Linked DNA regions of Homo sapiens: all the other regions are linked to region 1. The links are contacts of gene promoters, found by promoter capture Hi-C in blood cells and fetal thymus (Javierre and others, 2016). All regions are on one chromosome and are shown on one strand. The core of a region is centred on a gene start or on the middle of the fragment in contact, and the rest is flanking DNA. Distances in the headings are between cores, read along the strand shown. Region 1 holds the start of IPO4 (importin 4). Region 2 overlaps ACIN1 (apoptotic chromatin condensation inducer 1). Region 3 overlaps C14orf93 (chromosome 14 open reading frame 93). Region 4 overlaps HAUS4 (HAUS augmin like complex subunit 4).

Region 1 (2,700 bases), core at 176-2,675:
CTATCCCCAAGCAGGACTGAGCTTGAATGATATGAGAGTGTCTCACTTATAAAGCTCTCCGGAGACATTTCCCCCTTCACCTTCCTGGTTTCTGACTTTAATGCCTATGGACATCATGTGGGGTTTAAAGCCCATTTGATGACCCATTTACTTTGTTGAATACCTCTTTGTGCCAGGCAAAGAATAAAGTGGAATAAAATGGACAAGATCCCTGCCCTCAATCTATTAGGGAAGATATTCTTGAAGTGAGAGCGGCTAATCATAGGCAAAAAATCCCCATGAAGCCAGGAGATCTGGGGCAGAGAGTGGAGTGAACTCACTTTTCACAATGACCCAGCAACATGGGAGAGGGTGGGGGCTGGATTTCAGCCCAGCCACTGTGCTGATGGTGCACAGCCCTTTAATGCTGTGTATCATCTCTTTTCTTCACAGTGCCATCTCTGTGGAGCTGTACTACATCTTTGCCACAGTATGGGGTCGGGAGCAGTACACTTTGTACGGCATCCTCTTCTTTGTCTTCGCCATCCTGCTGAGTGTGGGGGCTTGCATCTCCATTGCACTCACCTACTTCCAGTTGTCTGGGGAGGATTACCGCTGGTGGTGGCGATCTGTGCTGAGTGTTGGCTCCACCGGCCTCTTCATCTTCCTCTACTCAGTTTTCTATTATGCCCGGCGCTCCAACATGTCTGGGGCAGTACAGACAGTAGAGTTCTTCGGCTACTCCTTACTCACTGGTTATGTCTTCTTCCTCATGCTGGGCACCATCTCCTTTTTTTCTTCCCTAAAGTTCATCCGGTATATCTATGTTAACCTCAAGATGGACTGAGTTCTGTATGGCAGAACTATTGCTGTTCTCTCCCTTTCTTCATGCCCTGTTGAACTCTCCTACCAGCTTCTCTTCTGATTGACTGAATTGTGTGATGGCATTGTTGCCTTCCCTTTTGCCCTTTGGGCATTCCTTCCCCAGAGAGGGCCTGGAAATTATAAATCTCTATCACATAAGGATTATATATTTGAACTTTTTAAGTTGCCTTTAGTTTTGGTCCTGATTTTTCTTTTTACAATTACCAAAATAAAATTTATTAAGAAAAAGGCTCATGCAGTTGGAGGTTTTGGTCTGGATATAGGAACTCGAGCCCTGCTGTTAAGGGCACGGTCCTTTATAAAGCCGAGCTGGCCACTGAATGCCCGAAGCTCGAGTTCTCCAACCCAGCTTGGGAACTCCCGGCGTGGGGAACCTACATTGCCAGAGTCGGGTTTCCGCGATTCAGCCGGTGCTCAGCCTAACGGAAGTGGAGGAGCCGGACCTCTTTGTGGGAAGCGAATTGAATCACCTTGGCAACCCGCGGGGCGTGCAGCAACGCCCTTTCCTCCGGAAGTGGGTGTCAGAACCTCCACGTGCTGTCCCTCCCCCTCCCCTTTTCGGCCCAGTAGCGGCGGCTCAGTTGCTGCCATGGAGTCAGCCGGGCTAGAGCAGCTCCTACGGGAGCTGCTGCTACCGGACACCGAGCGCATCCGTCGGGTACGGAGCAGGCGTAACCGGGCCAGGGCGAGCGGGAGGTTGCGGGAAAGGCCCAACTCTCACCCCTAGCTTCCCCCCAGGCCACGGAACAGCTCCAGATCGTTCTTCGGGCCCCCGCCGCTTTGCCGGCTCTCTGCGACCTGCTAGCCTCGGCGGCCGACCCCCAGGTGAGACCCCTGACTCTCCCCTCCGAGCTTCCCACTGTACGCCACCGGTCAAGCCCCAGTATTCGCCCACTGCGGTCCGCTCAGCACCTTCCTGCCCGGACCCCCACGTGCTTGCTTCCTCGTCCTAGATCCGCCAGTTTGCGGCCGTGCTGACCCGCAGACGACTGAACACCCGCTGGCGACGGCTGGCGGCGGAGCAACGGGAGAGGTGGGCTGGGCCTGGGGTGGGGCGGGGCCAGGCGGAGACTTTTCTTGGGCAGGCTGGGTACCAAACACCTGCCACCTGTGTTCCAGCCTCAAGTCCCTGATCCTGACGGCCCTGCAGAGAGAAACAGAGTAAGTACCTACCCACTTCTCTCGGGATCTTGACGACTTTGTCTAGGTTTCTGCCTTCCTTTTCGGCTCCAGGCTGGGACTTGTGGGGCAGGGACTTCAGTTCTAGACGCAAGGTGGAGTGAGGATTTTAAGGCTGTTTTGAAGACTAAAGTTCTTGAGGAAGGGTGATGATGATCTGCCAAACCCAAGTCAGAAGAATAAGACTGAAATTCAGGCTAAGTTAGACTGAACTTACCAGATTACATGCCCACAGTGCTGTTGGGCTCCCTCTGAGCTGCTGTCTCATGTGTCCCAACTTGGCAAAGACCCTGTGCCCACACCTCCTGAAAGTTTCTGTCCTGGCTGCCCCATTGAGCCTGGCCACTGTGTGCAGAGGAAGGTATTGAAGGGTGATTGGAGGAGATCTCTCCTGTTTGCAGGCACTGTGTGAGCCTCAGCCTGGCCCAGCTCTCAGCCACCATTTTTCGAAAGGAAGGCTTGGAGGCCTGGCCACAGCTTTTGCAGCTGCTTCAGCACAGTACCCACAGCCCCCACAGCCCAGAGAGAGAGGTACCATCACATGGTTGGCAGGAGGGAGGGCCTGAGAGGCTGGATAGACCTTGTAAGCTTGCTCTCCCATCCTCTATTCTTGGACAGATGGGGCTTTTGCTGCTAAGTGTGGTGGTGACCTCCCGG
Region 2 (2,799 bases), core at 160-2,659, 1.1 Mb after region 1:
CCTGGCTAATTTTTTGTATTTTTAGTAGAGACAGGGTTTCACCATGTTAGCCAGGATGGTCTCGATCTCCTGACGTCGTGATCCGCCTGCCTCGACCTCTCAAAGTGCTAGGATTACAGGCGTGAGCCACCGTGCCCGGCCGCCTAGTTGATCTTAATTCTGGTAGGAAATTTGGAAATCATCTAGTGCAGCCCCTCCTTTTTCTCAATCATGACATTTGAGACTCGGGCACAGTGGTTTATACCTTAATCTCAGCACTTTGGGAGGACCGGGGTGGGAGGATTACTTGAGCCCTGGAGGCTGAGGCTGCAGTGAGCCATGATCATGCCACTGCACTCCAGCCTGGGTGACAGAGTAAAACACTGTCTAAAAAGAAAGATATTGAGACCCAAATTACTTAAGTGATTTACCCAGTTACCTTCCTTCATGGAATTTGAGTGAAACTTTCTTTCCGTTTTACATGGATTTATTGTTCAGGATAACCTAGATTGGTGGTTTCCAAGCTTTTTAATAGAACTTTTTTTTTCCTTAAAAAAAAAAAAAATCTCACCTAGTCCGGGTGCGGTGACTCACGCCTGTAATTCCAGCACTTTGGGAGGCCAAGGCGGGGGGATTGCTTGAGCCCAGGAGTTCGAACCAGCCTAGGCAACATGATGAAACCCCGCCTCTGTAAAAAATACCGAAATTAGCCAGGTATGGTGGCGTGCGCCTGCAGTCCCAGCTGCCCGGTAGGCTGAAGCAGGAGAATCGCTTGAACCTGGGAGGCGGAGGTTGTGGTGAGCCTAGATCATGCCATTGCACTCCATCCTGGGCAACAAGAGCAAAACTCTGTCTCAAAAAAAAAAAAAGAAAAACATGTGAGCTCATGCCTGTAATCCCAGCACTTTGGGAGGCCAAGGCGGGCAGATCACTTGAGGTCAGGAGTTTGAGACCAGCCTGTCCAACAGGATGAAACCCCATATCTACTAAAAATACAAAAATTAGCCAGGCATGGTGGTGGGCACCTGTAATCCCAGCTACTCAGGAGGCTGAGGCATGAGACTGGTTTGAAGCCAGGGGGCAGAGGTCGCAGTGAGGCGAGATTGCACCACTGCATCCAGCCTGGGTGACAGAGTGAGACTCCATCTCAGAAAAAAAAAAAAAAAAAAAAAAAATATTGAGCTCTAATACATAAAACCTAATAGACAGGACCCAATTCTGAAACCCCATCCAGTTGGCTTGAAGTAATTTCAGGAACTTTAGGGCGCTGAAAAACATTCCTCTAAGTATTTATTTCTTGAGTTTGTTATTGTGCAAATTCATATATTTCATCATAATATTTTGGTTGAAATTAGAAAGTAGTAGTAATAGGCAATCCAAAAAAATGGATACAGAACATAATGAAGTCTTAAACTTTATTCAGAGTAAGAACACTTTGTAGAAATAAGTACACTTCATATTTGTACATCCCTGCTAGACAGTTTGAAGCCCCTGGAAATTATTTTACATTTATTTGAGTTATTTATAACATGTGAATTGGCTTCGAGGTGTTGAAAATATTCTAGACTTGCACACCAAGAATTACCAATAAGACCCTGACCTAGTTAGGGCTTTTTGTAGTCTTTTCTTTAGTGTAGAAGTCAAAGAAACCGATACAGATATGTCTTGATAGGCTCATATGCTATAATTGGTTGGATATTAGAAAGCCTGATTTTTAAAAAGCCATGAATGAGTCTTCACTTCATGAATCTGACTTGATTCTTTTTCATTCAATAGGAAAAAGCTCCTCAATTTCTGAAGAGAAAGGTGACTCTGATGATGAGAAACCAAGGAAAGGAGAAAGACGATCATCTAGGGTCAGACAGGTAACTCAGATACCTCCTAAAGCATTACCTCTTCAGTAATGCTTTGGATATCTTCTCTTCTTCAGACTTGTTTTGAGTTTGTATGTCTCTACATTTAGGGGTTTTGTTTTTCTTTTTTGGGACAGAGTCTGGCTCTGTCGCCTAGGCTGGAGTGCAGTGGCACAATCACAGCTTACTACAGCCTCGACCTCCTAGGCTTAAGCAGTCCTTCCACCTCAGCCTCCCAAAGGATTGGGATTACAGGCATGAGCCACTGCCTGGCCTCTAGATTTCTTTGTGGTTATCTTCCTTCTCCTCTTTGTCATCTTTTTGTTGTTCGTTTTGTCTTTTTATTTAGATCTGCTCTGCCTTTTAGATTTCTAAGTGAATATTTTTTAAAAGTTTAAATTTGAAAATTAGCAGGCTGCTCTGTATTCTTAAAGCACATTATTAGACAAGATATGACATAATTAACCATTCAATCAAAGCTTTAAAGTTATATAACACTAAGTGGGCAGAATACAAAAATGTTATGTGTAGTGTAATTATGACTGTACAAAGGAAATGATTAGAGGAAAGAACAAAAAGAAATATACCAAAATGATAAAAAGATAATCGTATTAATTGATAGTAGGTTAGTTCCTTTCAGCCCCCTATCCACCCTTTTACTTTCCAGATGTTCTGCTAATATTTTACTGAAAAAAAAAAAAAGGGGGTGCTTGAAGCTAAAATTTAAACTACATACAAGTAGCTTCATTGTGATATTTCTTTTGGTCACTTTGTTTTGATTCCCCTAAGGGCTACGTTAGTCATGATTGTCTCCTGTCACTCCTGTTTCTGTTGCTGAAAGTATATATCATTGAATTTCTCCTTCCTAGGGGTGTCTTCATTAGATACTTTCTCTCCTCTGTTGACTGTGAGCAAATACATTTGGAGCCATTGTGTATCTGTTCTTTCAGGCAAGAGCAGCTAAACT
Region 3 (2,700 bases), core at 198-2,697, 1.2 Mb after region 1:
AAAAGTGGCCCTGTTTGGGCTTTCTGGGTTTCTTACTTGTGCTGAGTGTATTTTTATTCTCTAACAATTCAAGTCAGACCAGTGCTTAATAAATACTGGCTCGACTGTGGATTATTCCACAATTTCAGACCTGCATTTCTTTGAAATCTAGTCACATTTTAGTGATCTTTGTGATCACAACAGTGATGGGAGTTTTTTTTTTTTTTTTTTTTTTTTTTGAAACGGAGTTTCGCTCTTGTTGCCCAGGCTGCAGTGGCAATGGTGCGATCTTGGCTCACTGCAACCTTCGCCTCCTGGGTTCAAGCGATTCTCCTGTCTCGGCCTCCCGAGTAGCTGGGATTACAGGCATGTGCCACCATGCCGGGCTGATTTTTGTATTTTTAGTAGAGACGGGGTTTCACCATGTTGGTCAGGCTGGTCTCCAACTCCTGACTTTAGGTGATCCGCCCGCCTCTGCCTCTCAAAGTGCTGGGATTACAGGCGTGAGCCACCGCGCCCGGCCAGTTACGGGAATTTTTAATGGAGTTTTACCCTTTTTAGCTCTTTTCCACATCACTACAGGTCATCACATATACTTTTTACCTTACTTTTTAGCGTCTCAAAAAATAGGGAGAGCTCTCCCTGAACAGTGCAGAGCCCGTATCCCTGATTTCCTAGGCTATTTGATTTCTACATCCAGGAACGTAGGGTCATATCCACTGTTCTTGCTTTTTCTTCCTAAGAAAGGAGAGAATTCCTCGCACATATATATCGTTGGCTTGGCCTTCCAAAGCAAAGCAAAACTAAACTCTGTTGATTTTGCCTGGGAATCCTCGGGGCCCCTAGTATTGGAAACTTCTTTGAACTGTGAGGAGCTGCTAATTTGCAGGTGACATGTGAAAGAAATGTAACCGAGGCCAGCAGTAACTAAAAGTCGGCCACCACCCAACGTGTGACGCCGATTTGTGGCCACTGTGCTTATAATCGTGTACACACAGGTTTGTGAGCAGCAGAGAACAAAAGCAAGTAAACAAAAACAAGCTAAAGATGGCGTCTGACGGCCTTGAAAAAGCCTCACAGTCTTGTCCCTCCCTGAGGAGGCCCCTCCCCTACCTGACTTTTTGAGTGACTGTTGTTTGCAGCCAATAGTGTCCGTGACCCTGCTCCCCAGCCATCGTCTAACCGCCAATCACCGGGAGCCAGAAGGCAAACGGGGCGGTGTCTCCCCGCGTGCGCGCGGTAGCCGGGTACACGGGCAGGCGCCGCGGATAGTTCTGTCTCCCGCGCGCCCGCCTCCGCCTCTGCCTAGCTGAGTCAGCCCGTGCGGTAGCGCCAGGCACACGCGGTAGAACATCTGTAGGGCTGCAAAGCTGCACCTCCGCGTCAGTTCTCACGGCGAGCGCCGCCTTCAGCCCAAGTTCTCAAAGCTCTCGGGGCTACGTAGTCTACCCTCCCCGGTGACCCGGCGAGATCCCTAGCCGCTCCTCCGGCCGCTCTGCTCTCCGCATCCCTCGCGGGAATGACCCCCTTTACCCGGGACTCCCAGAGCGCACTGTATGGTAGGGCACAGTGGCGAGTCACCCTGTCCCCTGAGGCCTCTTGAGCAGTCGCCGATCTCTGCTTCCCGCGTCGCTGCGATCGCCTTTCCCGTAGCTGAATCACACTGACCCATCGGAAACGGTTCTGCCCTCCCTGGGGTCCACCTTGTCATCCTTGACTAATATTTAATCAACTAACATTTACCAAGTTCTCGCTGGCACGAGTTCTAGGAGCTACTTTTTCATTTTTCAGTTTCTCCATAAATGCAGTGGGTCCTTTAGGCAAACCTGAAATCGGAAATATTAATCTTACCAATGTAATCTTAGCAAATGTAAATAAAAAGGACTGTGCTATACTGGGCTAAAAATTCTCATCCTGCTATAGAAATATACGTGGAATTTTCAGATTACGTGGAATCCTTTAAAGACCGCATTCGGCCTTCTGGGTCTACAGCTCTCTTTTTTACCCCTAAAAATAAGGTCTTGGATTTTTTGCAGACCATTAGTCGAGTCACTCTTTTAAAATGTGGGAAAATAGTATTTTGTGGTATTTACTTAGCTGCTCTTGTGTGATAAGGAGCTCATTTCTGATAAAAATAGGTTTTGAGAGAACCTTTTGACAGGTGAGCCATTTTGCACCTTGAAGTGGAGGAGTAGGACTGACCAACACAGCAGGAGCTTTAAGTGGCCGTTTTCCTTATTTATTTCTTAAAATGAAGATTATGATATGAATTGCCATGCTTTCAGTAATCACATTTAAGGAAGTCTATTGCTAGCATGACCCTGAATGAGTCAAGCACCCATTATAAAAACATATATCATCTGAGTGATACCATATCATACACATCTATTAAATAGTGAGAAAACTTTTATTTTTCATAGTTTGGAGGTGAACTCAGTCATGCAGAAAATTCAAACTCAGAATGGGGAGAAAGCAAGCAAGGGAACTGCCAAGAGTATGATATATTTAGTCCTAACAAAAATGTGACTTGGGAGGAAAGGGATAGTTAAAATTATGGACAGTCTTACCCTGAACTGTCTGTCTAAAGGAGATGAATTGTCTTTCTTTTTTATCTAAATATTTATGAAAAATACCAAAAGTACTGGAAAGTACATTTTTAAGGCTCGTTTCACATTTATTTAAATTAGACCAATACTGAAATGAACCCCAAATGCTTATATT
Region 4 (2,700 bases), core at 188-2,687, 1.2 Mb after region 1:
AAGAAATGAGGTGGGGTTGGTTACCAGTTACAGGAATGACCAGGCCAACTGTGGCTTTGTCTGATGATGTGATCTAGGGGAAGTAGGAGCTTTGAGAAATGGTTTGTCAAAAGAGAAATGGACTGTAGTTATGGGGAAGGAGTGGATGTGTTATCAGAGTTTGTAATAGAAACATTGACAGAAGTCACTCGCAGCTGAGTTATCTGAGGGGGGATGATATATTTGAGGACTTTGAAAATATGTGAAAAACTGGTTCATAAGGATGGAAGAGGTGGAGTGGGAGAAGTTTTATAGTTGCCTCTTTTTGTTTTTTATTCTCTCTCTCTCAGTTTCATGAGACCCTTGAACAGCGGCTGCTTGTAACTGAACTGATGCGGCTCTTAGGTCCTAGCCAGGAGAGGGAGATACCTCCACTGCTGGGGCTGGAGAAAGCGGACCTTCTGGAACTCATGCCACTCTCAGAGGTTGGCGGGGAGATATTGGAACCAAATAAATGAAATGGTTTAATTTCTCCCATATCTTTAAAATGTTTTTTTTGTCAAGCTTTATTGTTTTTGTAAAAATGATACACATTCAGGGTGGTCAGACTCAAATAAGAAAAACGTTACACAGGAGCAAGTAAAAGCTGAAATACTGCATCTAGAAGCACAATATTATTATAAACAGCTTGACATAAATGGTATTATACCCTTCATGCTTATATAGAGAGTATAAGGCCGAGTGTAGTGACTTCCGCCTATAATCGTAGCACTTTGGGAGGCTGAGGTGGGAGGATCACTTGAGTTCAGGAGTTCAAGACCAGCCTGGGCAACATAGTGAGACCTCGTCTCTACCAAAAAAAAAACAAAACAAAAGCCAGGTTTGGTGGTGCACACCTGTAGTCCCAGCTACTCGGGAGACAGAGGCAGGAGGATGACTTGAGGGTGGGAGGTCAAGGCTGTAGTGAGCTGTGATCATGCCACTGTACTCCAGCCTGGGCACAGAGTGAGACCCTGTCTCAAAAAAAGAAAAGTACAGTCTATTTTCATGTAATATATTTTGGATTTCTTTTCAAGTCAATACATAAATGTAAATAAGATGATAGCTTCTATAGCACTGTTAGCAAAGTATCTAGGCACATAGTGCTTAGTGTTATGTCATCAGTTTAAATCTCTGCTAGGATTCTATTATATGGATGTAGAATAATTTGCTTAACCTTATTGGTGGATATTAAGGTTGTTTCCACATTTTTGCTGTTAGAAACCACAGGGAGATGAACATGCTGGTTCATATGTGTCTTTACCTTTGTATGATTATTTCTGTAATGCTGGTGCTAAAAGTGGGATTCCTGAGTCAGTGCATACTCATACAGAATATTGGTACCTAATGCCAAACTGCTATCCAGAAAGGTATTTTCAGGGCTCCTGGATCCCCCATGTTCTCACCAACATGGGGTCTTGACAGTCATTTTATTCTTCGCTAATTTGATAGGTGAAAAATGAGTCTCTCTGATGTCTCTTGATGCATTTTCTTTGGCTATTATTGAGGTTATCATCATGTATTCATTGGCTGAGACGTCCTAGTTTTTACAGTCTATTCGCATTTCTGCCTTTACTTCTATGACTGTAGGATTTTGTGTGGATGAGGGCTCGGCTACAGCAAGAAGTAGAGGAGCAGCTCAAAAAGAAATGTTTCACTCTGCTCTGCTACTATGATCCCAATTCAGGTGAGTGCTAGCTGTCTGTTCTGCTCACAGCTGGACTTCAGGGTTCCTGGTCTGCTCTTTTGAGAATAATATATTTTGATTTTAGATTTGGGACAGAGGTTTAGAACCATCAGAGATGCTTATTTGTTTTGTTGCTGGTAGAATAAAAACAAGGACTTTTTGTTTTTTTGTTTTTTTTTTTTTTTGAGATGGCGTTTTGCTCCTGTTGCCCAGGCTAGAGTGCAATGGCGCCATTTCTGTTCACCGCAAGCTCCTCCTCCTAGATTCAAGTGATTCTCCTGCCTCAGCCTCCCGAGTAGCTGGGATTACAGGCATGCGCCACCCCGCTCGGCTAATTTTGTATTTTTAGTAGAGATGGGGTTTCTCCATGTTGATTAGGCTGGTCTGGAACTCCCAACCTCAGGTGATCCGCCTGCCTCGGCATCCCAAAGTGCTGGGATTACAGGTGTGAGCCACCACACCCGGCCAAAACAAGGACCTTTGTAAGGACTCTTTTTATTCAGCAAGATACTGAGTGGGAGTGTCCTCCTGCTGCAGGGAAGGATGAGTTCTCTCAGGAGGTTCAGAATGGTTTAGGGAGGAAAGTTCAGACTCATAGAACACCTTATACTCTCTGTATAAGCTTGGAGGGTATAATACCATTTATGTCAAGCTGTTTATAATAATGTGTTTCTAGACGTAGTATTCATATTTCAGCTTTTACTTGCTTCTGTGTAATGATTTTCTTATTTGAGTCTGACCACCCTGAATGAATGTGTATCTCTTTTTTTTTTTTTTTTTTTTTTGAGACGAAGTCTCGCTCTGTCCCCCAGGCTGGAGTGCAGTGGCGCAGTCTCACCTCACTGCAAACTCCACCTCCTAGGTTCACGCCATTCTCCTGCCTCAGCCTCCCGAGTAGCTGGGACTACAGGTGCCCGCCACCACGCCTGGCTAATTTTTTGTATTTTTAGTAGAGACGGGGTTTCACCGTGTTAGCCAGGATGGTCTCAGTCTCC

Evidence for each region. The method cuts DNA at HindIII sites, captures the fragments that hold promoters and counts their contacts. A CHiCAGO score of 5 or more calls a contact.
Region 2: a contact is called between a fragment that was not itself captured here and the fragment with the promoter of IPO4 in region 1, in 1 of 17 cell types (monocytes). The highest score is 6.4, in monocytes.
Region 3: a fragment that was not itself captured here is called in contact with the fragment with the promoter of IPO4 in region 1 in 1 of 17 cell types (activated CD4 T cells); the score reaches 6.5 in activated CD4 T cells.
Region 4: a contact is called between a fragment that was not itself captured here and the fragment with the promoter of IPO4 in region 1, in 1 of 17 cell types (monocytes). The highest score is 5.7, in monocytes.

Annotation. Positions count from the first base shown.
Region 1 is chr14:24,187,541-24,190,240 of GRCh38, reverse strand. It overlaps IPO4 (importin 4), which reads left to right and starts at 1,425. Exons shown (of 30, transcript NM_024658.4): 1 at 1,425-1,522; 2 at 1,603-1,689; 3 at 1,818-1,897; 4 at 1,984-2,025; 5 at 2,445-2,574; 6 at 2,662-2,700. The coding sequence starts at 1,454. TM9SF1 (transmembrane 9 superfamily member 1) reads left to right here. Exons shown (of 6, transcript NM_006405.7): 6 at 433-1,092. The coding sequence ends at 826. RefSeq lists silencers at 1,854-1,973, 2,219-2,429. The HindIII fragment of the contact is 6,803 bases long and covers 1-2,633 here.
Region 2 is chr14:23,080,793-23,083,591 of GRCh38, reverse strand. ACIN1 (apoptotic chromatin condensation inducer 1) reads left to right here. Exons shown (of 19, transcript NM_001386863.1): 5 at 1,756-1,844; 6 at 2,783-2,799. LOC124903288 (a long non-coding RNA gene) reads right to left here. Exons shown (of 2, transcript XR_007064077.1): 2 at 1,378-2,799. Among named protein-coding and RNA genes, the nearest start is that of ACIN1, 13 kb to the left of the region's middle. The HindIII fragment of the contact is 1,808 bases long and covers 506-2,313 here.
Region 3 is chr14:23,005,673-23,008,372 of GRCh38, reverse strand. All of the region lies in intron 1 of C14orf93 (chromosome 14 open reading frame 93), which reads left to right. LOC124903286 (a long non-coding RNA gene) reads right to left here. Exons shown (of 2, transcript XR_007064075.1): 2 at 1-1,805. Among named protein-coding and RNA genes, the nearest start is that of C14orf93, 3.1 kb to the left of the region's middle. RefSeq lists enhancers at 1-429, 1,363-1,732 and a silencer at 1,153-1,202. The HindIII fragment of the contact is 3,706 bases long and covers 1-2,700 here.
Region 4 is chr14:22,949,319-22,952,018 of GRCh38, reverse strand. HAUS4 (HAUS augmin like complex subunit 4) reads left to right here. Exons shown (of 10, transcript NM_001166269.2): 5 at 330-464; 6 at 1,609-1,705. The region is part of intron 2 of PRMT5-DT (PRMT5 divergent transcript); the gene reads right to left. Among named protein-coding and RNA genes, the nearest start is that of MIR4707, 6.4 kb to the left of the region's middle. The HindIII fragment of the contact is 1,784 bases long and covers 546-2,329 here.